Linked DNA regions of Homo sapiens: regions 1, 2, 4, 5, 6 and 7 are each linked to region 3. The links are contacts of gene promoters, found by promoter capture Hi-C in blood cells and fetal thymus (Javierre and others, 2016). All regions are on one chromosome and are shown on one strand. The core of a region is centred on a gene start or on the middle of the fragment in contact, and the rest is flanking DNA. Distances in the headings are between cores, read along the strand shown.

Evidence for each region. The method cuts DNA at HindIII sites, captures the fragments that hold promoters and counts their contacts. A CHiCAGO score of 5 or more calls a contact.
Region 1: a contact is called between the fragment with the promoter of TRIM38 here and the fragment with the promoter of H3C12 in region 3, in 5 of 17 cell types (non-activated CD4 T cells, activated CD4 T cells, monocytes and 2 more). The highest score is 13.2, in non-activated CD4 T cells.
Region 2: the fragment with the promoter of H1-6 here is called in contact with the fragment with the promoter of H3C12 in region 3 in 14 of 17 cell types (activated CD4 T cells, naive B cells, M0 macrophages and 11 more); the score reaches 15.1 in activated CD4 T cells.
Region 4: a contact is called between the fragment with the promoter of H2BC3 here and the fragment with the promoter of H3C12 in region 3, in 17 of 17 cell types (total B cells, naive CD4 T cells, total CD4 T cells and 14 more). The highest score is 41.0, in total B cells.
Region 5: a contact is called between a fragment that was not itself captured here and the fragment with the promoter of H3C12 in region 3, in 6 of 17 cell types (fetal thymus, monocytes, non-activated CD4 T cells and 3 more). The highest score is 6.9, in fetal thymus.
Region 6: a fragment that was not itself captured here is called in contact with the fragment with the promoter of H3C12 in region 3 in 2 of 17 cell types (activated CD4 T cells and naive CD8 T cells); the score reaches 6.8 in activated CD4 T cells.
Region 7: a contact is called between a fragment that was not itself captured here and the fragment with the promoter of H3C12 in region 3, in 1 of 17 cell types (fetal thymus). The highest score is 7.2, in fetal thymus.

What each region holds. Positions count from the first base shown.
Region 1 is chr6:25,960,758-25,964,051 of GRCh38, forward strand. It overlaps TRIM38 (tripartite motif containing 38), which reads left to right and starts at 2,045. Exons shown (of 8, transcript NM_006355.5): 1 at 2,045-2,098; 2 at 2,292-2,525. The HindIII fragment of the contact is 6,907 bases long and covers 1-3,294 here.
Region 2 is chr6:26,106,667-26,110,058 of GRCh38, forward strand. It overlaps H1-6 (H1.6 linker histone, cluster member), which reads right to left and starts at 1,469. Exons shown (of 1, transcript NM_005323.4): 1 at 746-1,469. The coding sequence starts at 1,427. The coding sequence ends at 804. The HindIII fragment of the contact is 5,524 bases long and covers 1,096-3,392 here.
Region 3 is chr6:27,889,080-27,892,347 of GRCh38, forward strand. It overlaps H3C12 (H3 clustered histone 12), which reads right to left and starts at 1,747. Exons shown (of 1, transcript NM_003535.3): 1 at 1,236-1,747. The coding sequence starts at 1,713. The coding sequence ends at 1,303. RefSeq lists enhancers at 49-693, 694-1,338, 980-1,279, 1,339-1,983, 1,500-1,719 and 1 more. The HindIII fragment of the contact is 2,915 bases long and covers 1,263-3,268 here.
Region 4 is chr6:26,041,900-26,045,020 of GRCh38, forward strand. H2BC3 (H2B clustered histone 3) reads right to left here and starts at 1,814. Exons shown (of 1, transcript NM_021062.3): 1 at 1,328-1,814. The coding sequence starts at 1,758. The coding sequence ends at 1,378. It also overlaps the pseudogene H2AC5P. RefSeq lists an enhancer at 2,058-2,297. The HindIII fragment of the contact is 16,277 bases long and covers 1-3,121 here.
Region 5 is chr6:26,061,945-26,065,495 of GRCh38, forward strand. No RefSeq gene overlaps it. Among named protein-coding and RNA genes, the nearest start is that of H1-2, 7.2 kb to the left of the region's middle. RefSeq lists a silencer at 2,683-2,822. The HindIII fragment of the contact is 576 bases long and covers 1,026-1,601 here.
Region 6 is chr6:26,006,723-26,010,217 of GRCh38, forward strand. No RefSeq gene overlaps it. Among named protein-coding and RNA genes, the nearest start is that of H1-1, 9.3 kb to the right of the region's middle. The HindIII fragment of the contact is 1,116 bases long and covers 1,519-2,634 here.
Region 7 is chr6:26,083,893-26,087,460 of GRCh38, forward strand. HFE (homeostatic iron regulator) reads left to right here and starts at 3,537. Exons shown (of 6, transcript NM_000410.4): 1 at 3,537-3,568. The coding sequence starts at 3,549. It also overlaps HFE-AS1. The HindIII fragment of the contact is 165 bases long and covers 2,237-2,401 here.

The DNA.
Region 1 (3,294 bases), core at 795-3,294, 1.9 Mb before region 3:
TCATGATAGTCAATAAGTTTCATGAGACCTGATGGTTTTATAGAAAGGAATTTCCCTGCACAAGCTCTTTGCCTGCTGCCATCCATGTAAGACCTGACTTGCTCCTCCTTGCCTTCTGCTGTGGTTGTGAGGTCTCCCCAGACACGTGGGACTGTAAGAGCATGAAACATTTTTTCCTGGTATAAATTACTCAGTCTCAGGTATGTCTGGATCAGCAGTGTGAAAATGGACTAATACAGATACTTACAGTTATTTCTTGATTATGTACTAAACAAGGAGTGGATTATTCATATGTTTTCTGGGAAAGATGTGGGCAATTCCCAGAACCAAGCGTTCCTCCCCTTTTTAGACTATATAGGGTAGCTTCCTGACATCGCCATGGTATTTATAAACCACTATGGAGCTGGTGGGAATGCCTTCTAACTTGCTAACACATTATAATTCGTGTATAATGAGCAATGAGAATGACTAGAGGCCACTCTTGTTGCCATCTTGATTTTGGTGGGTTTTGGTCAGCTTCTTTACTGCAACCTGTTTTATCAGCAAGATCTTTATGACCTGTGTCTTGTGCCAACTGCCTATTTCATCCTGTGACTTACAATGCCTAACTTCCTGGGAATGCAGCCCAGTAGGTCTCAGCCTTATTTTACCTAGCCCCCATTCAAAATGGAGTCATTCTGGTTTGAACACCTCTGACAATAGGACAGATCTGGAATGAGCCATGCCTGGGTACAGAGTCACATCCACAACAATGAAAGTTGTAGATATCTGCAAGGACTCATCGTGGGACCAAGGATTCAGGGGCTCATTCTTTCTCCTCTCTCTGTGTGCTGGTTGCCTCAGGAGTAGAATGTCCCATGCTATGCATGGGGTCTGCAACCATCATGCCAGGGCATGATGAATCGTAGGTGGCAAAACAACAGAAGGCTCTGTGAGCACCCAGGAGGGTGCAGTGCTGAAGAGTCTTCTGCTTGGTATAGGAAGAAAGGAACGTGTTTCCCAATCTTGCCTTTATTTTGAGTAGTTGGACCAGAGGGATTGCAGCTGGGCCAAACTCCATGTTCCATTGGCTATCAGGGTCAGCAGGCAGGCCAGGGGCCCAGACAGGCCAGTGGCTCCCAGAATTCAAGTTTAATTTCTCCTCCCACCTGTGTCCTGAGCTCCCCTTACTGGTTCCCTTGGACCACTGCATCTACTTAAGCCAGCATTTATTATGTTGTTATCATAAATGCCTCTTACACCTGAGACTTATAAATGTGACAAGCTCTTATTGTGAGATAGTAATCCATCTTTTTTCCCCATGAAATAATAATTCTAACGGGTGGTGATAGTACTTTTCCTTTCATTTTGAAGTGGAGAAGCTGGAGCTAAGTCATTAAGGACTTGACCCTGGACCCCACAGCCTTTTCTCCACAAAGCACAAAGCAGAGTGATGGTCCCAGGGATCCCACACAGCTCTAAGCTGGGGGCACTCACTGCTGGGCCACTAGTGACTCCCATTTTCTATCCTGGCTGACCCTCGCTATTGAAGAAGATCTGAGTCCTGCAGAAGGACAGCAAGGAGAAAAACAAGACACAGAACGGGACAGAGAAGAATAGAAAGCTGACTCAGATGAATTTTGTGATGCCAATGAGTCCTACTGCTGTTACCACCCCTTTTTCCACCACACCCTTCAGAGCAGTTATAGAACCACAAGCAACCCATAAATAGCAAAAGAAGTAACATCAGCTAGGAAGGCTTAAGGACTCCCAAGGGAGTTGGTGGCAAAAGTAGAAAGATCTCAAATCAGAGTCTGTGAACTGAACCTCTGCAGGCTTCCTGTTTTTAGATACTCTGTGTTGGGGTCACATGATAGTTTACAGGGTTATTAATTGGTTCCTTCTTTTTATTGCTGTAAAAGAAGGATATTTTCTTCCTACGTTTCCCCCTCCTTTACCGGAGAGGCGGAGTGCAAATGATATGAACAACGTCACTAGTTTTCTCCTAAATCTTATGAGCCCCGCCTCCCACAGTAGTTTCACTTCTCAGTTTAATCCGGTCTGAGTTAACTTCCTGACCCAGGAAGTGGCAGCAACAGAGGGGACTAGCAGCGAATATGTAAGTGTCTGAGCAGTGAAGGTTACGGAAAAGGTCCAGGCTAAGGTTTTCTCAGTGGATATGTGAGTGTGTACTGATGGCAAGTGGGGTGGGGAATATATTTCGTGACAGCAGGGCCCCTCCAACTCTGAAAATGGTCAGGACTTTCTTTGTTTTACAGCTCTCACCTCTTTCCTGCTCTTTCTTTCACCAGACTTTACACCAAATCTCAGAAGATTCAGAACTTAGATGAGTGGGGCCCAGGACAGGAACCCTGGAGCCTTGGAAGGAGGGGAGCCCCATCTCCCCAGAAGAGCAGTGACCCCAGCAGAGAGGGGCCTGGTGTATCACTGGAGGAAATAGCCTGCCAAGGAATACACGTCTTCAGAAGAAATTCTGTGTGGCTTCAAGAGACTGATCAAATTGTGAGAGGAAAACAGCCTACCCGGTAATTGTAGTTAAATTACTGTTTTTTATTCTAGGCACTCTTCAAACTTCCTCCTGACTCTGCCCCTGTCCTAGAGGAGCTCCCAGGAGTAGGGGTGTGGGGGCGGGCGGGGGGGAGGGATCGGGGGTACAGGGAGAGCCCAGCTAGGTTCTCAGAAGAGGCAGGCTTTTTCGCTCCTGGTCACTCCTCTGTTGCCTATCCCTGGCCTCCCCCATCTTCTTTCTGCCTTCCCTACCTCCTTGGGTCTGCAAACTCTTTATGTTGCAATCACTCTGAACATGTCTCTTGAGATAGGTCCTGTCCTGGAGAAGAGATAGTAAAAGTAAACTCCCCAGTTCTGCAGGAGCTCTGATCCCATAGAAATAACTGCTCCTCAGGAGCAAACCCTCTGCTCTGCAGCCTTCTTTCCAATTCTTATTCCCTCAGTTTAGGGAGAGGGCACAAAAAGGATAAACCGGTTCTTCTGGTTGTTCTGGTTGCCTTGATTGCTTCCATTATCCTCCTGGTTGGGTCTCTAGCAAGACGTTATTAGCCAGGGAAGTCCCACTTAGGCACCCCTCTCTGCAGAAGAGGTATTCACTATTCTCCTTTCTCTTTCTTTTGCCTATTATACCTCTGCTCCTGAAAGCAAAAACAACAACAACAAAAACACAAACAAAAAACAACCGACCTTATTAACCAGTGTTGGTTGTTGTTCTTTGTGGGGGATGGGGGGGGTCGAGGTGGAGTCAAATTTTATTGTCATGATGGTGTAGGAGCCAAGGGAACA
Region 2 (3,392 bases), core at 219-2,718, 1.8 Mb before region 3:
GGACATCAGACTTTTTAGTTCCTGGACCTCTAGATATACGGCAGTCTCTGACAAGAAGCCCTTTTTCTGTTTTAACTTTTTTTTTTTTTAAGTTTTGAGACAACGTCTGACTCGCTGTCACCCAGGCTGGAGTGAGGTAGCACCATCATAGCTCACTGTATCCTTAAACGCCTGGGTGCAGGGACTAAGGGAGCGTGCCAACCATGCTTGACTAATTTACTTTTTTGTAAAACCAGTAGTCTCCAACCTTTTTGACACAAGAGACCGTTTTGTGTAAGACAATTATACCACGGACCAGGGGGTGCAGGGGCTGGGAGCAATGATTTCCGGACTAAAACTGCTCCAACCTCAGATCATCAGGCATTAGATTGTCACAAGGAGCCTGAAACCTAGATCCCTTGCATGTGCCATTCACAATACAGTTTGAGCTTATGAGAATCTATCTAATGCTGCAGCTAACCTGACAGGCGGTGGAGCTCAGTTGGTTAATGTTCGCTCACCCCTCAGCTGTGCGGCTCAATTCATAACGTGCCATGGACAGGGACCGGTTACCGGTCGGTGGCCGGGGAAATGAGGACCCCTGGTATAGATGGTAGTCTGGCTATGTTGCCCAGGATGGTCTTGAAGCCTGGCCTGAATTAATTCTCCAATCTCAAGCCTTTTCAACTCAGCTGCATCACAACTTAAACCTATAGATAACTGTCACAGAAACTTGTTTCCAGTGTTACGCCATCTTAAAATAATGTGGGTGGCTCTTAAAAGAGCCTTTGGGTTCTTTCCAAATTGGCCTCCCGGAAAGCTCTTTACTTCTTAGATGTGGCCTTTCTAACATTAACTTCATGATGTTGGGTCAATTTTGACTTCGAAGCCCTTGCCTTCACTGGGCTCTTCTGCTGTTGCTTACCCTTGGCTCCTTTAGCCTTTCTCCCGCTCCTAACAGTTTTAGGAGTTGTCGCTCTCGGCTTCTTGGCTCTCTTATTGGTTTTAGCAGTCTTTGGTGACTTGGAGTCCCTGGATAAAACCAGCTTCTTGGTCTTGGCAGAAACTGACTTTTTAGCCTTGCTTCTGGTAGATTTAGGAATCACCTTCTTACTAAGCTTAAAGGAACCGGAAGCACCAGTACCCCTGGTTTGCACCAGGATTCCCTTGTTCACTAAGCTCTTGAGGGACAGTTTGATGCGGCTGTTATTCTTCTCTACGTCGTAGCCAGCAGCGGCCAATGCCTTCTTGAGCGCAACCAAAGACATACCTACTCGTTCCTGTGACACTGAAAGGGCCTCGGTGATCAACTTGGACACAGAGAGGTTCGGCACTTTGCGACTTGCACTTATCAAGCCAGCCGGCTTCCTCCCTCGCTTCTTGGTTGGAAGTTTCTCCATAGCGGCTACACCAGCACTGGCAGAAGCTGCAGGCACGGTTTCAGACATAACAACAGAGAAACGCAAGATGTAATAACCAGCGAAAAGCATGAAACACCCGGGCGGCCTCGGGGCCTTATATAGGGTAGGGCGCGCTGTGATTGGTGCATCACCTAGGCACCGCCCCCGCCCCTTGGAGGAGGAGTATTTGTGTTTGTTTTACCCGGAAAAGTTGAGTATAACAAAACCCCTCTTTACAGAATCTCCCAGGGTCTAGTGCTGAATAATCTGCGGAAATTCATATTTGACATGACTTTTCTCTTTTTAATGAAAAATGACCCTGGATGCCAAAACTATTCGAGAAAGCCCTCGATTTTCAATCAAATTCACGGAGAGGAACAAAACTTCCCCTTTTCCTTGTAAATTAATAAGTAATCTTTGGCAGAAGACTTATTTCATCTCTTCAGAGTGGTCTTCCAAATGGATAGCTTCAAATCGGTAGAGGAAAGAAATTATTCACGCCATGATTTTTATTTAAAATTATTTATATATGTGAGGGAAGTAACACAGATCTCTTAGCTGTCTAATTGCGGAGTCAGAAGATGCTTATAGAATTGTCAAAAGACTGCAGAGGATGTCTTTATTTAGGCATGTGCAATCTAATAAATCATAATCCACAGGAACATGGGTTGTCTGTAATTAAAGGTGCTCCCAAGTCCCTGTAGCTTTATAGAGGACTCTCAAGGATGGGGTAATATCAAGATCTCACACATTATGTAAGATTGGCCATAATCAGGCCACTCTCATGACCGGTGTCCTCAACTGAGTTTTGCTTCTGGTTTCATTAATTGAAGTCCCCTCTATCCCCCTGCCCACCCCTACATCCCCAGATAAACAGACACAGTCCCTCCCCTAAATTAACTATAAAACATGAGGTAGGAACCCTAGACTCAAGAACCTACTAGAAACTACAGACCCCATGTCTAACAAGACTGGGCGGGTTGGCTGGGCGCAGTGATTCATGCCTGTAATTACAGCACTTCGGAAGGCTGGAGGCCAGGAGTTCAAGACTAGGTTGGCCTGGTCCCTACTGAAAAAAAAAAAAATTAGCTGGGTGTGGTGGCACATGCCTGCAGTCCCAGCTTCTGGGTAGACTGAAGAGGATCACTTAGAGCCCAGGAGCTTGAGGTCGCAGCTACTGCACTCCAGCCTGGGCAGACCCTCATCTCTGAATTGCTTAATTAATTAACTGAGCTGGCAGATTTGGCTGCATAGCTGTGGGGAAAGGGTTGTTGGAATAATGTCCAGTGTGCTCCCCTGAGCTTCTACTGGAACAGGTCTTTGTGAGAGGCCTGGAGATAAGAGCTTGCTCACAAAGGCTGAGGCCTTTCTGGGATGCTGAATGAGTTTAGTGTGGCCAGAGCATAGGGTCTCAGCAAAGGAAAACTCCATAAGGGCCATTTGTGAAGATCCCCAAATACTTGTGTGAAACATTTGGTAGATATTAGAAGTTTTGTTTTGGTTTGGTTTGAGACAGAGTTTTGCTCTTGTTGCCCAGGCTGGAGTGCAATGGTGTGATCTTGGCTCAGTGCAACCTCCACCTCCCAGGTTCAGGCAATTCTCCTGCCTCAGCCTCCCAATTAGCTGGGATTATAGGCGCCCACCACCATGCCTGGCTAATTTTTTGTATTTTTAGTAGAGATGGGGTTTCATCATGTTGGCCAGGCTAGTCTCGAACTCCCCACCTCAAGTGATCTGCCCGCCTCTGCCTCCAAAGTGCTGGGAATACATGCGTGAGCCGCCGCGCCCGGCAGACATTGGAAGTTTTTAAGCAGAGAATTTGTTGTATTGTTGTAGTTGTCTTGGGTTTAGATTTATTGCATAAACAATCATTTTTGAGAAGGGCCCACAGTCAGAAGTTGGGAGTCTGTTGCAATAGTCTCAGAAGAATGGCAAAGACCTTGCCTAAGGGGACAGTGTGGTAAAGGAGAGAGTCTACATTTGAAATATTTCTGAAACAAAAGCCAAAAGATA
Region 3 (3,268 bases), core at 497-2,996:
ATCAGGTTCAATAAATATTTTTTGTGTACCTAATGTGTTTTCTGGGGCACTGTCCAAGGCCCTAGAATATATTACTGCATTTAACCTTTAAAGCAGTCTCTTGAGGAAAGTAAAGTGAAGGAAATAAAAATATTTTACCCCAAAAGATATTTCTTTGCCCTATTTTGAAATGGCTGCCTCAGGGCCCGGAGACCGATGAGGCCCTGCAAATCAGTCTTTTGTGGGGGAAATTTCCATTTGTTGCCAGGCTTTCCCTTTCTAGTCCTTTCCTGGATCTAGGAGAGATTAACTGAGAGTCTGATCCTTTTTTATTTTTATTTTTTAAGAGACTGTCTTGCTCTGTCACCCAGGCTGGAGTGCAATTGTGCAATCATAGTTCACTGCATCCTTGAACTCGTGGGCTCAGGCAATCTTCCTGCCTCAGCCTTCTGAGCAGCTAGAACTACAGTTGTGCGCTGCAACACCCACCTTTCTTTTTATTTGTTTTTCGTAGAGACAGGATTTTGCTGTTACCCAGGCTGATCTCAAACTCCTGGGCTCAGGGAATCCTCCTTCCACTGCCTCCCAAAGTGGAGGGCATGAGCCACCACGCCCACCCTGACAAGAGACATTTACCATCTATTTTTTCTGAGGACTACTAGCTATGTGTTTTCATCTACATAACAAGACCCGCCCCCCTTGCTAGCCAAGTCTCTTCCTTTCTCCCTCCTATAATCTGTTTTCCCAGGTTCCAAGCTTGCACTCTTTCTATAATCTCAAGGTGATATATAAACTTCTGTATCTCATTGGTGGGTGGGTCCTCATTTTGAAGTCTCCCGTGTCTATGTGCTAAATCAACCGGCCTCATGTCCGTGATTTTCAGCAAGCTTCCAGGGGACCCAAGGGCAGTGCCCGTTTCAGTTAAAAATGGCATCTCATTTAACCTGTAATCTAATTGTTAGTTATGGGGTTCTGGAGATGCTATCCCCAAAGGACAGCATGTGCAGGAAGGACTTTGGCTTTCCCCTTGAAGCGGATTGACCTTGGATATAGATTTGCTGACTTTCCTCGGAGAAAGTGAGACCCTTGTGAGATGGGTCACAGAGGACAAGTGAAAAGGACCGTCTTAGAAGACAAAGGACACTGCAAGGAATCAGAATGAACAACCCTTGACGACTTTCCGCCAGTTTATCCCTGCTTTAAAGTTGATTTAAGACAGTCGACCAATGGTGTGACAGCTATCCTCAGTGAGAATGTAAGTGGCTCTGAAAAGAGCCTTTGGAAGCTTGGAAGCAATTAAGAAACCCAAGATAGAGCAGGGGATTATGCTCGCTCGCCACGGATACGACGCGCAAGCTGGATGTCCTTAGGCATAATAGTGACACGCTTGGCGTGAATAGCACAGAGGTTGGTGTCTTCAAAGAGACCCACCAGATAGGCCTCGCACGCCTCTTGCAGCGCCATCACCGCCGAGCTCTGGAAACGAAGGTCGGTTTTGAAATCCTGCGCGATTTCTCGCACCAGGCGCTGAAATGGCAGTTTGCGGATGAGCAGCTCAGTCGACTTCTGATAACGGCGGATCTCACGCAAGGCCACGGTGCCTGGCCTGTAGCGGTGGGGCTTCTTCACACCGCCAGTCGCTGGAGCGCTTTTGCGCGCTGCCTTGGTGGCCAGCTGCTTCCGCGGTGCCTTGCCGCCGGTAGACTTGCGAGCTGTCTGCTTCGTCCGGGCCATAGTTGAGAAAGCTATGCTCTGAAAGCAAGCAGCTGAATGAGCAGTGGCTTCTACCAGAATTTATAACGATGATCTGATCCTGATTGGTCAGAACTGTTGTAGGAAAAACCTGGTTGGTTGTTAATACTATCTTCATTTGGTTCCTGCCACTTTTTTTTTTTTTTTTTTTTTTTTACCTGACGGCTTCTAATTCTGTCGCCTAGGCTGGAGTGTGGTGGCGCGATCTCAGCTCACTGCAACCTCCGCCTCCCGGGTTCAAGCGATTCTGCCTCAGCCTCCGGAGTAGCTGGGACTACAGGCACTTGCCACGACGCCCGGCTAATTTTTTTTTAGCAGAGAAGGGGTTTCACCATGTTGGCCAGGCTGGTCTCAAACTCCTGATCTCAAGTTATCCGCCTGCCTCGGACTTCCAAAGTGCTTAGATTACAGGCGTGAGCCACTGCGCTCGTCCTCCGCGCCACTTTTATTTATTGTTTTCAACCAATCATGTTAAGATTCCCCCAATGAAAAGATAATCTGACCTAGAATTTGTGTAGGTCAGTCGTAGTCTTAAACTCATTTCCAATGGGTCATTTTTCCTATTTCGGATCGTGTAAAAATACATACAGTAGAACAACGTATTTGCTAGTATTTCCAAAAAGTAGTTCCGTTTTGTAACTGCTTAATTAAATCTTTTAATGACTGTACCAAGACCCAGAACAAAAACAATTTAAACTTAGGCTGGCACATTCTCTAAAACACCAAAACTTTAGTTTTGTCCAGTGTGGTGTGGGGAAGGAGTTTGATAGGTGCTTGACTAAATGATACCAATAAATGGTATCTGACCTCTTCATTAACTGAGTTTAATGCAATCCAATGGCTGATTGGATTAATTATGTAAATTATTGCTTAATTTCATTAGCATGCGCGGAATTACAGGTTTGGGTCAGTGATTAGATTTTTGCCAGTGAATCTGGGTAGTTCTGACAACAGCATTTTATTAGGATGGAGATTTTAGTTGATCAAAGAACTACCAGGTTCTGGTATTGATAAAGACCCATAAAGACAACAAAAAGGTTAGTTTAACATTTATTATATTCACAGGAGCAAATGATCACCAGAAATACTTTTGTTTGGGTTTTGTTTTTCTTTTTTTGAGACGGGGTCTCGCTTTGTCACCCAGGCTGGAGTGCAGTGGCGAGGTCATGGCTCACTGAAATCTCAAATTCCTGGGACTCAAGTGTTCCTTCTGCTGTCAGTCCGCCAAATACAGGCGAGGGCCTCGCGCCTGGTATTTTTTTTCTTTCTTTTTTTTAGATGGAGTCTCGCTCTGTCGCCCAGGCTGGAGTGCAGTGGCGTGATCTCGGCTCACTGCAACCTCTGCCTCCTGGGTTCAAGCGATTCTCCTGCCTGTCTCCTTAGTAGCGCTCGCCACCACGCCCGGCTAATTTTTGTGTTTTTAGTAGGGACAGGGTTTCACCATGTTTGCCTGGGTGGTCTCGATCTCTTGACCTTGTGATACACCCTCCTCGGCCTCCCAAAGTGCTGGGATTACAGGCGTGAGCCACCGCGCCCA
Region 4 (3,121 bases), core at 564-3,063, 1.8 Mb before region 3:
CTTGTTTGTTAATTACCTATTAACGATCAGCCGAGTATCAGCAGAGACAGCAAAACATCCTAGTTTTGAGTTAGAAGACCTAGGTTTTTGTTTTGGCTTATCAATTATGGGTATTGTTTTAGATGAAACATCAAGTATTCTTGATTTCTTATTTCAAAAATAAAAAATAAAAAATAAAGGAAGGAAAAAAGAAGAAAAAAAGAGAAGAAAAGTGTCAGAGTTACTTGAACCAGAGTAACTCCATTTTGAGTGAGGGCTAGGAAAATGAGGCTGAGACTTTCTGGGCTGCATTCCCAGAAAGTCAGTCATTCCTAGCTTCTAGATGTTTACGGTTAAGGGAACAAATAAATAATGTTTACTAAACAGACTCAGACTTAGGAGTGTCCAGATATCCCTATATCTGGAGAACAAAGGCATTCTTAATTTTGTTTAAAGATAATAATGTTGATTCTTGCAAAATATAGTAACTAAGAAAATTAATCCTTTATCACAAACTTGTAGCAGAGCACATCTCCCCATATATACAAGTATTGTACCTAGGGTGGATGCCTTCCTCCTCTTACTTTCGGGAATGTCCTGCTCCGTCTATGGAGTAGTTGTCGTTTCACCACTTTACTTTCTTAGTAAACTTGCATTTACTTTGCACTGCGGACTCACCCTGAACTCTTTCTTGCGCGGGATCCAAGAACCCTCTCTTGGGGTCTGGATGGGGACCTCTTTCCTGTAACATATTTCTGGCCACCACAGAAGGGACTATAGTACAGAAACCCTGACCCAACAGCTACCTTTGGGTAAGTGTTGGAGTTCTGTAACAAAGGAAGAAGGCAGGCAGGCAAAAAATTTATGAAAGAACATACGACAAAATAATTTCTGCTTCAAAACTTCATATTTTTTTAATTTTTTTTTTTTTTTTTTTTTGAGACGGAGTCTCGCTCTGTCACCCAGGCTGGAGTGCCATGGCGCGATCTCGGCTCACTGCAAGCTCCGCCTCCCGCGTTCACGCCATTCTCCTGCCTCAGCCTCCCGAGTAGCTGGGACTACAGGCGCCCACCATCACGCCCAGCTAATTATTTTGTATTTTTAGTAGAGACGGGGTTTCATCGTGTTAAGCAGGATGGTCTCCATCTCCTGACCTCGTGATCCGCCCGCCTCGGCCTCCCAAATTGCCGGGATTAAAGGCAAGAGGCACCGCGCACGGCCCCGTCCAAGTTAACCTTGGCTCTAAAACTTGTCTTCGCTAACATTCCAGTTGATCCTCTAGAACTGAAACAGAATAGCAGCAGCACCACCTTAAGAAATTGTGGTTATAGCTCTCCTTGTGACAAAGTAGGTGGCTCTGAAAAGAGCCTTTGGGTTTGGAAGTGCTTACATAAGCACTTATTTAGAGCTAGTGTACTTGGTAACTGCCTTAGTGCCCTCGGACACAGCATGCTTAGCCAGCTCCCCAGGCAGCAGCAGGCGCACAGCCGTCTGAATCTCCCTGGAGGTGATGGTCGAGCGCTTATTGTAGTGAGCCAGGCGAGAAGCCTCGCCCGCGATGCGCTCGAAGATGTCGTTGACGAAGGAATTCATGATCCCCATGGCCTTGGATGAGATGCCGGTGTCGGGGTGGACCTGCTTCAGAACCTTGTACACATAGATAGAATAGCTCTCCTTGCGGCTGCGCTTACGCTTCTTACCATCCTTCTTCTGCGCCTTAGTGATAGCCTTCTTAGAACCCTTTTTAGGGGCTGGAGCAGACTTAGAGGGTTCAGGCATTGCTATTCCTAAACAGAATAGAAAAGCTACTAACACTCTCCACTACAGAGTAGTACAGAGAACAGTTCAGAGCCCATGTATTTATAGTCCTGAGATTCAAATGACGGTTTAAGATTCCTCACTTCTGATTGGACAAAAGAAACACGGTTTCACTGAGGGGTGGGGTTTATGCAAATATGGAATTTATGTTATCTTTTTCTATTGGATAAAGCACCAAACATAATTGACCAATAGGATAGCTTCCTATTGCAGCCTTGCAGTTTGTATAAAAGGATTTGTTCAGGCGCCATTCCAGCTTGCTTGTCTTTCACAGTTTTCCGCTGCTTTCATAGGTCGCTATTTGCGGACGTGGAAAATGGAGCTAAAGCAAAAACTTGTTCGTCGCTACCGGGCTTGCAGTTCCCAATAGGGCAGAGTCCGTCATCTTTTTCGAAAGGGCAATTATTTTGAGCCGGTCGGAGCCGGTGCGCCAGTGTACTTACAATACCTGGCCGCCGAGATCTTAGAACTGGTGGGCAGCGCCATACGTGACAAGACCCGCAGCATCATCCCCCGCCACCTGCAGCTGGCCATCCGAAACGACGAGGAGGTCAACAAGCAGCTGGGCAACGTCACTATTGCTCAGGGAGGCGTCCTGTCCAATATTCAGGCCGTCCTGTTGCCAAAATAACAGAGCCACGATAAGGCCAAGGTCAAGTAAACACTCAAATCAGAAAACGTAGCTTACACTTGAAACGGCATTTTTCAGAGCCGTCCATAGTTACACAAGAAAGGATGATAACTTGCTTCTGTTAGGGTATTTTTTGCTTTTCGTTTGGATTGGTTTGTTTTGAGACAGTCTAGTTCTGTCACCCAGGCTGGAGTGCAGCGGCGCGATATCGGCTTACTGCAACCTCCACCCCGCCGCTTCACGCGGTTCTCATGCCTCAGCCTCCTGTGTACTTGGGATTACAGGCGTCTGCTACCGCGCCCAGCTAGTTTTTGTATTTTTATGCGAGACGGGGTTTCACCATTTTAGCCAGGGTTGTCTTGAACTCCTGGCCTCTAGTGATCGTCCCATCTCGCCCTCCCAAAATGCTGGGATTACAGGCGTGAGCCACCGCCCCCCTAGCCTAATGGTGTTAAAAAGTTAAGTTTCGAGAAAATAACACCTTCCTTTAGAAAGTACATTTTAGAGTATACAAAGTGAAACTTAAGGCCAACCAAAATAAGACATTTTGAGAACAGGCAGGGTGGGAATGTGACTTGGACTTAGAAAACAAAGGGCAAGGAAACTTGCTGTTCGCCAGTAACAAAATAGCATGGAATCTCATTCTCTGAATATAAGCGTTATTTCCCGACATGAGTCTGAACGTTTCTGGTG
Region 5 (3,551 bases), core at 64-2,563, 1.8 Mb before region 3:
TAACAGCTATCTTATTCTTCAAGCTTCTTTCAAATGATGTCAAAGCATTTCAGAAAGTCAAACCTACCCTCAAAGGATAAGAATTTGTCAATTGTGAGGATATGCACATTTTTACACCTTCTCAATCTGTGTCTATATGAAGGCAGTTATAAAGCACAAGATGCAAACGTATATTAGGCAATAGTCTTCATCAGAATAAGTACATAACCTGACACAATGACTATATTGGAAGAAACATGGAAATGCAAATTTCAATAGATTGGTTGACATTATTTTTTAATGTCTAGTTTTTTACTGTGCTGTGTTTTTACACACTTAATGAGCACTTGTTAAGCACAGGACACCAGGAGAAATAATAAAAACTAAGATCAGCCTAGCAGTGTGTCCTCTCAAGAACTTATACCTGGTGGGACAGATACAGACAAATATAACCATCATACAGTGTGAGAAATCGATAGAAAAGACACAGCCACTGAGAGCACAAAAGAATAAAAACATAAAATGTTAATGTGCTGGCTAAACGTTTGCCTTCAAGTATTTACCAGTCTAGCTGGGAAAATAAGACAGAAGACAACAGCCTAAAATAGTGGTTCTTAAACATTTAGATATCAGGACTTCTTTACACTCCTAAAAACTATCAGGCCTCCAAAAAATATTTTGCTAAATATAGGCATTTATCACTTTGGAAAACAAAGCTGAGTATTAATTATTTAATTATTTATATTAATATTTATTTGATAACCTTTAAAATATTATAAAATTAATATTTATTTATAATGCATATATGTGATTATATAGTTCATATGTAGCCATATATTTATCATATATACCATAGATTTATGTTATATATTACATATGTATGAAGAAAAAATGGAAAGTAAACCCAAAAGTTCCCCATTCCCTAACCCATTCAAAACCCTGGAAGTCCCAGGCTAATCTGAAACTTGTAAAACTGCCTGCATGTAGAGAGCACAGCTGAGCTGGTAGTGTGGAAGAGCAGAAAGACAGCAGTTCTGGAGCAAGGAAGCTTTATATTTAATCCCAGTTTCTCCATTCATGAGCTTGGTTACCCTGCCAAGTTCCTTCTCTGTAAAATGGGAATAATACTCCCAGAAATACAGTGAGGATTAAATTAGATAATGTGCATACAGTTCCTGGGATTGGGATCAGCACACAGTAGCCTCTCATTTGAGGCATATTTGCATTAGATCCTTGCTGTATGATATCCTTCTGTTTCTTTCTTTTTTTTTTTTTTCCTTTGGTGACCCTAAGAAAGATGGTACTCTCCTTAACTTGGAGGGCTGGATGCGAAGAGACCAAATCCAACAAGCTGGTTCATTCTTTCTAATTATGTGTGCTTCCCTTAGCTGCCTCTGAAAGGATACAGGCCCTAGGTACTAGCCCCAAGAAGCCTAATGATAAGAGATAGAGCTGGACCACCAGAGAAGAGATGAGTGTGTATGTGTGTGTGTGCAAGCAATTATATGTGTGCATTTAGGAGTGGTAGGTGTGTAAACAGTCTAGAACACTCATTCTCACTGTGATGTGAGGATGTATCCCCACATCACTGTTCTGGGAGCTCACTCCTTGTCCATCATCCAAGCTTATGATGGACAATTCTTTCCCAAGTGGGAAAGAATTCTGATGACACTCACATAACTACCCAGTCCCAACTTTCTGTATCCAAGGTGTGTGCATACCTTTGATAGCAGGCAGGTGTGCCTAGCCAATATATTAGGAGCATGGTATTCCAGCACTCTGCACTTTTTTACTATAGAATTCATCTCAACCTGCTTACATTACATGAAAGTTTTGATTGATATCAAATTTTTATTATGTTTGCTTATCAAAGGATTTGTAATTATGCTTCAGTTGATACATAGATTGTTTATATTTTTCATGGTTACTTGAAGCACTTATATTTTCCTCATACTTTTACAAAGTAATCAAGGAAAAATACAGAGGCAGCTTAGTATATTAGTCAAAAGAATAATTAGACTGTCTTGGAACCTGGAATGTCTGAGTTCAAATTCAATTTTGCCGTTTTACCAGCTGTGTGACTTTGGGTGAGTTAATAAACCTTTTCGTGTCTCAGTGTTCTCACATGTAAAGAGACAATAATAAGCCTACCTGTTTCATGGGTCATTATGAGGATTAAGGAGTTAACATTTAAATAGTTCTTAGAACAACCTCTGACATATTTTAAGTACAAAAATATATACATATATTAAATAATAACTTTTCTAAAACATCCTACCTACAATCTTGTGTGCAAATTGGTGGCTCAATTCTGCAACTGTTGTTGGTGGTGTTGTTGTTAAGCTTTTGTTTGTCATGACTGTTATCAGTAATATTAATACAGACAGTTAACTGAACCCTTCCTCTGCACCAGGCATTATATGGACTATTTTCATTCTGACTCCCTGCATTCTATGAGACAACCACCATTGTAATCATTCTCACGTTGCCAATAAGGAAATGGAGAATGAGAATTCAGACTTCTCCAAGAAGTGCTGCAGACTGATTATAAATCATGCATCCTAAACACACACATATTAAAGTATCAACTAAATCAAACAGAATAAAACTTTTGTTTTTCTATCTACAAAATGCATGAATTAAAATATGCCCCAACTACTTAACTAATATATTTAGTAAGTAGAGGGATGGAAGCGTTTTCACTCCTTCAATACATTCTTCATCAACCTCTCTCACCTTACCCCTCTGTCACAGGCATTTCCTATGTCATGCGGTTTTTCTGATGTACGCTAGGTGGCAGTCAAAACCACGAACTCTTGAAAGAGAGTATATTCCTATTTTTCTGCAGCCTCAACCTCCAGGGCTCAAACGATCCTCCTGCCTCAGCCTCCTGAGTAGCTGGGGCCACAGGTGCGAGCCACCACACCTGGCTAACTTTTACATTTTTGATAGAGACGGGGTCGCCATGTTAGCCAGCCTGGTATCGAATTCCTGACCTCAGGTGATCTGCCCGCCTCAGCCTCCCAAAATGTTGGAATAACAGGAGTGAGCCACAGTACCTGGCCGGTAATTTTTAACTTCTAGCTATACACTTAGTTTTTTGTCCTTTTCAGTGGACAGAAATTATAATGCCTGTTTGACAGGGGATAATTCTGAGGCACTGGGAAGCCATGAGACTGCATGGATTGCACAGGCAGGCAAGAACATGGGAAGGAACAAGTGTCTTAGACACTTGTCTCAGTGGTCTAGAAAAATCATGCTAGCTGATTCATTCACTCCACAAACAACTGATCAACATCTTCAAGAAGCCTAACAATGTACTGAGTTCAGGGGACAAGAAAATAATTCAGACAGGCTCTACCTTCATGGTGGTGTTTGAAGAATAGGGATCTAGAAAACGGTAGGTAATAGTGGCTGTGCAAAAGATATCAGAGATGATATGAAAAGGAGGGACTAGACCATTTTACCCAGGAGTGGAGGTTAAACATAGGGTCTTTAAGGGAAACGTAAAAATATTAATTCTTTTCATTTTTGAAGTAAAATGACCATCGCTTCTCGGCCGTTTGGCTAAG
Region 6 (3,495 bases), core at 827-3,326, 1.9 Mb before region 3:
TTCCTCTGGCTCCATTATTTACAAGGTCACTAATGACTTCCTATTTCTAAATCCAGAGTGCCTTTTTAGTTATCTTCCTTGCCTTCTTGGCATCTCTAGATAACAATACTTGTCTCATTCTAACTTTTGTCTCTCCTTACAGCTCTTTCATTCATAATTCATTGTTATTCAGTTGGAGCCTTGATGGTGTTAGGGAGAAGCAGCATTCTGTAGTCAAAGTGTTAAGCCTCAGTTTATTAGCATGCCTATATCTTGGGGCTGGGACCGTCACAAGTGTTTATAATGATACAACTCCTCCTCCTCCTCCTTCTCCTCCTCCTCTTCCTCAAGTGTTTATAATGATACAACTCCTCCTCCTCCTTCTCCTCCTCCTCTTCCTCAAGTGTTTATAATGATACAACTCCTCCTCCTCCTCCTTCTCCTCCTCTTCCTCAAGTATTTATAATGATACAACTCCTCTTCCTCCTTCTCCTCCTCCTCAGACCTTTGCTCCTTTCCTGGCTGCACCATTTCCAATTTATTTTCATGAAGCTCTGATCCCTGTTGACTAATTTTCTTCCCTTAAGTGAGACAGAAAGCCTAGATGAGGCTGCAGTGGGAAGAATTACCTTCTCCCAGCTGGGATAAGACTCTGGCAAAATGTTTTCCCCTTGAGAGTAGGCCTTTGTTTTGAAGAAGGTTCTGGGGTGTATTTCATAATAATTCTTCTCTCCCTGCCAAAGCCACAAGAGGATCCTTCTCAGATCTTCACTGCAGGAACCTGGTGGGCTTTCTGATGCCCACAAAAGTGTGGGAGCTTCTCACTCTCATGGGCATTCACAGTTGGCCTCCAGCTTTTTGTCAGAGTTACCAATTTAAATGTTCTCAAATGTGATACTGTCTCAACTTCCAGGACATCACACACTCATGATTTTCTACTATCCTGACATTTGCAGTCTTTTTAGCAGATCTCCCTCCCTCTCCCTGCACCATGGGTATTGGTCATCTCAGGATCTGTCCCAGGCTTTCTACTCTTCATGCCCTTTGAGACAACACATGATCTGACCTGCCCTTTCAGGAAGAAATGTTCTGTCTACCTACTTGCTCCAGTTAAAAACCCTAGTGTCATCTTTGACCCTTCTCATCCCTACATCTAATCTGTTGATTCTACCTCCTAATTTTCTCTCAAACGCATCTATTTTTCTTCAATTTCAGTGCTACTCTCTTGCTCTAATTGTACATCATCTTTTTTAGAATTACTGTGACATTTTCTTGCCTCCAGTTCTGCCTCAGTCCATCCACTTCACAGCTAAATTTTGGATGTACACTTTTGAACTATTACTGTAGCAAAAGTAATATGTAATAACTGTAATGCAGAAATATAAAATATGCAATATAAAAGAAATACATGCATAAATGATCCCAACACTAAGGAAACAATATTGATCAATAATTAAATAATTGGTGGATAGTGAATGACAACATAGAGCAAAGTGTTCAGTAGGTTTTAAAAGCTGTGGGTTCAATAAATGCTCATGAAGCTTGTTCAGGGGCTTGCAAAATATGTAATTTGAATTTTTAAAGAAAAGGAATTTCAGATAAGAAAAAACATACATAACATGAAACAATACTTGTGGTGGTTTCAGGGAGGTCATGTTCTCACATTCAGGTGCCAAGGCCACCGTACATCCGGACACTGAGGCCACGGACTTGGTCTGCAACCTCCATGACAGCCTTGTAGATTTGAAACCGAACTCCAAGGAGCAGTTGTGCTGTGAGTTCCAGAGTTTGGGGACAGAGGAAACACCATTCTTTGGAAGTCTAACTTCCTTAAGAGGTGTCCCTTAGACATCTAGTGTCCGGTGTTATGGAGGTCCTTGTGCTCTGAGGAAGGAGCCCCTTGTTGATTGATGGAGCAAAATTTTTTTAAACAAGGAACTGTACCCGTATCTGGGCATGAAGCCAGAGAAATCCCTGAGGGCAGGGCCAAGGCTCTCAAAGATTTTCAGGGAGATTCCCAGCCTTTTTAAGTCTCGCCTATTCTTTTTTTTTTCTCTAACTGGCCATTTTGTATATATGGAGGTTATTGATTTTTTTGCTTTTATATCCTGATATTTTAATAACTGTTCATTTTTTAGTTATTTGAATTATCTACATTGATTATTTGAATGTTCTTTTTTTTGTTTTTTTGAGACGAAGTCTCGCTCTGTCGCCCAGGGTGGGGTGCAGTGACAGGAACTTGGCTCACTGCAACCTCTGCCTCCTGGGTTCAAGCGATTCTCCTGCCTCAGTCTCCTGATTAGCTGGGATTACAGGTGCCCGCCACCACACCCAGCTAATTTTTGTATTTTTACTAGAGATGAGGTTTCACCATGTTGGCCAGTCTGGTCTCAAACTCCTGACCTCAGGTGATCCACCCACATCGGCCTCCCAAAGTGCTGGTATTACAGACATGAGCTATTGCACTTGGGCTTTGAATTTTCTACGTATCTGACTTCTACGAAGAAAACTATAATGTATTACTCAGATAAATTAAACAGGAAAACTAAATAATGGAGGAGTATATTTACAGTTGAAGCGGTCAATATTTTAAAGGTATTAATTGTCCCCAAACTGATCTACAAAACCATTGTAATCCTAATCAGATTCCCAATAAGCTTTATTATAGAAATTGACAAACAGGGTTCAAATTTAATACACAAATCCAAGGGCCCAAAATAAACAAATCTGTTGCTTTATTAAATATCAAAACTGATAAAATGACAATAATCAGGGCAGTGTTGTCCAAAAATAGACAAACGAATGGAACAGGCTCAAACAAATATGGACATTGATTTACATCTAAAGTGGCACCATACAACAATGGTGAAAGGACTCTTGTAAATAAATGGCATGGGACAATTGTATAGCCTTTTAAACAGAAAAAGAACAAAAAGGAAAAAAAAAGAAACTTGACCCCCTACTTCACACTATACACAAAAAACAATTCCAGGGGAACTAACATGAAAAGCAAAATAAAGTTAAACATGAAAAGCAAAATAAAGTATATGGTAAAAAATTTATCTTACCCAAAAAGAGGTCTAGCCTTTGCCCTCAGCTACTGGGAGATGAATTTTAGACCCTTGAAATGTTCTCACTGATAAGTGTGTCTTTGTTTACCTGGAGGTTTTGACCACCACACAGTCAACAATGTGATTTATAATAGGAACTTTGAGCCACACAGTATCAGCTCTACCTGTGGAGGTAGACTAAAAGATCGGCCATGTGAGCAGTCAACCATGGCAGGCCATTAAAACTGCACACTGAGGCTCGGGTGAAATACAGTTCTCTTGTATACGGTTTCTACATGGTTTTAGTTCCTGTGGTCTACTGCAGTCCAAAAATAATAAACGGTAAATTTCAGAAATAAACATTCACCTAACTTTTATACAGTATATTCTTAACAATTATTCTAATTTATTGTTATTAATCTCTTACTGTGCCTAATTTATAAATTAAGCCTTATCATAGCTGTGT
Region 7 (3,568 bases), core at 1,069-3,568, 1.8 Mb before region 3:
CTCCATGGCTTCCACAATGTGATTGGTCATTTCTTTTTTGTTTATATGACAAGTTTTTATTCTTCTTCTGCCTGTTAAATGCGCCTGACCCCCAGTGTTCTGATTTTCACTATTTTTCTTAAAAAAAAAAGTTTAAATGAAAAAAGTTTCTTATGAAAATATTAAAACATATACAAAAATAGAATAGACATTGATAATAGATCCTAAAATTCCTAGGGAAATTCAGCAGACTGAGAATAGCTAATATAGTCTTCCAAAAAAAGATCAAATTTGAAGTTGAGAAACTTCTTGAATTCAATTTACTAAAAAGCTATAGTAATCAAGACAGTGTAGTCCTGACATAAAGATAGGATTATAGTCTGGGTGTGGTGGCTCATGCCTGTAATCCCAGCACTTTGGGAGGCTGAGGTGGGCAGATCACCTGAGGTCAGGAGTTCCAGACCAGCCTGACCAACATGGTGAAACCCCGTCTCTACTAAAAATACAAAAATTAACCAGGCATGGTGGCAGGTACCTGTAATCCCAGCTGCTTGGGAGGCTGAGGCAGGAGAATTGCTTGAACCTGGGAGGAGGAGCCAGTGGCCGGGATTGGGCCACTGCACTCCAACCTGGGCAATAGAGTGAGGCTCTGTCAAAAAAAAAAAAAGATAGGATTATAGATTATAGCATAATGGGATAAAATTGAGACTCCAGAAATAAACTCTCACATTTATGGTAGATTGATTTTTGATAAGGGTGCCAAAACACTTCAATGAAAAAAGAGTCTTCTCAACAAGTGATGGTGGAACAACTGAATAACCACATTTTTGTTCTATCTGGGGCCCTGATTCAAAAACCCAGGCAAAGATGGAGAGAAATCAGAACTCTCATACACTGCTGATAGGAGGATAAAATGCTTACTTTGGAAAAGAATGTGGCAATTCCTCAAAAGGTTAAACAGTGTTACCATATGACCCAGCAAACCCACTTCTAGATATATAACCAAAAGAAATCAAAACATAAGTCTACAAAAAAACTTGTACATAAATGTTTATAACAGCACTATTCCCAATAGCCATAAAGTAGAAACAAACCAATGTCCATCGGCTGATGAATGAATAAATAAAATATGTTGTGGTATGTCCTTATAATAGATATTATTGGTCCATGAAAAACATACATAAAAACATTATGCTAAATGAAAGAAGCCAGTCACGGCAAAGCAATATATTATATGCCTCTATGTATACTAAATGTTCCAAATAGAAAGAAAGTAGATTAAAGATTGTCTAGGGCTGGGAGGGGAGGAGGAGGAGAATGGAGGAATCTGGGAGGCGATGAATTAAGGGTACTGAATTAGGGGAACATGGTTTCTTTTTGGGGAGATAGAAATGTAAAATTTTGGTAATGGTTGCACATCTCTGTAAATATACTAAAATCCATTAATTTTTGCATTTTATTTTATTTATTTTATTTTTGAGACGGAGTTTCGCTCTTGTTGCCCAGGCTGGAGTGCAATGGCATGATCTCGGCTCACCACAACCTCCGCCTCCCAGGTTCAAGCGATTCTCCTGTCTCAGCTTCCCGAGTAGCTGGAATTACAGGTGCATGCCACCACACCCAGCTAATTTTTTTTTTTTGAGATGAAGTCTTGCTCTTGTCTCCCATGCTGGAGTGTGATGGCACGATCTTAGCTCACTGCAACCTACGCCTCCCGGGTTCAAGCGATTCTCCTGCCTCAGCCTCTAATGTAGCTGGGATTACAGTTGCCTGCTATCACGCCCGGCTAATTTTTGTATTTTTAGTAAAGACGGGGTTTCACCATGTTGGCCAGGCTGGTCTCGAACCCCTGATCTCAGGTGATCTGCCTTCCTCGGCCGCCCAAAGTGCTGGGATTACAAGCGTGAGCCACTGAGCCGGGCCAATTTTTGCATTTTACATAGATGAATTATATGGTATGCTAATTATATCTTACCAAAAATTGAAAAAAAGGAATAGTACTATCAGCCCCAATGTGCCCATCATCAATATTCTACATGTTTCCAATGTTATTGTATCTGTTTGCCTACAGTCGAGGCCCTGATATCCTGTTTGATTTTCTTGAATTGCCAAAATTTGCATACATGCTTACAAAAATAATGCCTGTTGAATTTGCTAGATATGTAAAGGTTTGGAGCAAATCAGGTGTATTAAATTTATTAATATTGTTTGAAATGTCTAAGGCAATAATTCCCAAACTTCGTTGAGGGAGAAGGAAAGCTTTTAAAATCCCATTGCCCAGGTGGCATCCCATACTGTTACTGGGAATTATGCATTGGGATGGATCCTTTAACCGAGGAGATTATTATAGCCGGAGCTCTGAACCAGCAATCTCAGTTCTTGTGATAGTGAGCAAAGAACTACAAACTAACACCAAAATGCAAGCTTAAAGCAAAGTTTATTGAAGCACAATAATACACTCTGAGGGACAGCGGGCTTATTTCTGCGAAGTGAACTCAGCACTTCTTTACAGAGCTCAAGGTGCTTTTATGGGGTTTGTGGGGAGGAGTTGAGGTTTGGGCTGTATCTGAGTGACAGGATGATGTTATTTGATTGAAGTGTATAGCTATACAATCTAAAATTAAACTGTGCATGGTCTTACCTATAATTTGTTAAGAAAAGCCTCCCAGGGATGGGGGGGCAAAACTGTATGTAAATTCTATTATAATGATGGCATGATGAACTTGGGGTGAACTTGAAGACAGGCTTTTGTGTTGTTGGGCATGTGCCACCTTAGGGAATTTCCACCTGTACCCTCCTTTCTCTTTCTCCAGGATATTTTGGCCACAGACTTTATCATAAACTCCATCCCTTAGGGTGGCATTAGGGTAGTCTTGGGCCTGAATTTAGGTGGGCCAGTGGCTGTCTTAGTGACAGCCTTTCCGCTCTCTTCTGTCATCCCCTCCCAACTGCTAATGTCTAACTACCTAACAATTACCCATTAAATCAGTGTGTCTGGGGTTAGGAGCAGGCCTCAATATGTTTAATCATTCTCCAGATAATCCCAATACTGTAAAGTTTGTGAAACACTTGTCAGATAATTCAATTATGAAGGCTGTGGAAGGTGTTTCAGTAGGATCTAATTGGTTAATGTTATGACTTAATTAATTTGAATCAAAAAACAAAATGAAAAAGCTTTATATTTCTAAGTCAAATAAGACATAAGTTGGTCTAAGGTTGAGATAAAATTTTTAAATGTATGATTGAATTTTGAAAATCATAAATATTTAAATATCTAAAGTTCAGATCAGAACATTGCGAAGCTACTTTCCCCAATCAACAACACCCCTTCAGGATTTAAAAACCAAGGGGGACACTGGATCACCTAGTGTTTCACAAGCAGGTACCTTCTGCTGTAGGAGAGAGAGAACTAAAGTTCTGAAAGACCTGTTGCTTTTCACCAGGAAGTTTTACTGGGCATCTCCTGAGCCTAGGCAATAGCTGTAGGGTGACTTCTGGAGCCATCCCCGTTTCCCCGCCCCCCAAAAGAAGCGGAGATTTAACGGGGACGTGCGGCCAGAGCTGGGGAAATGGGCCCGCGAGCCAGGCC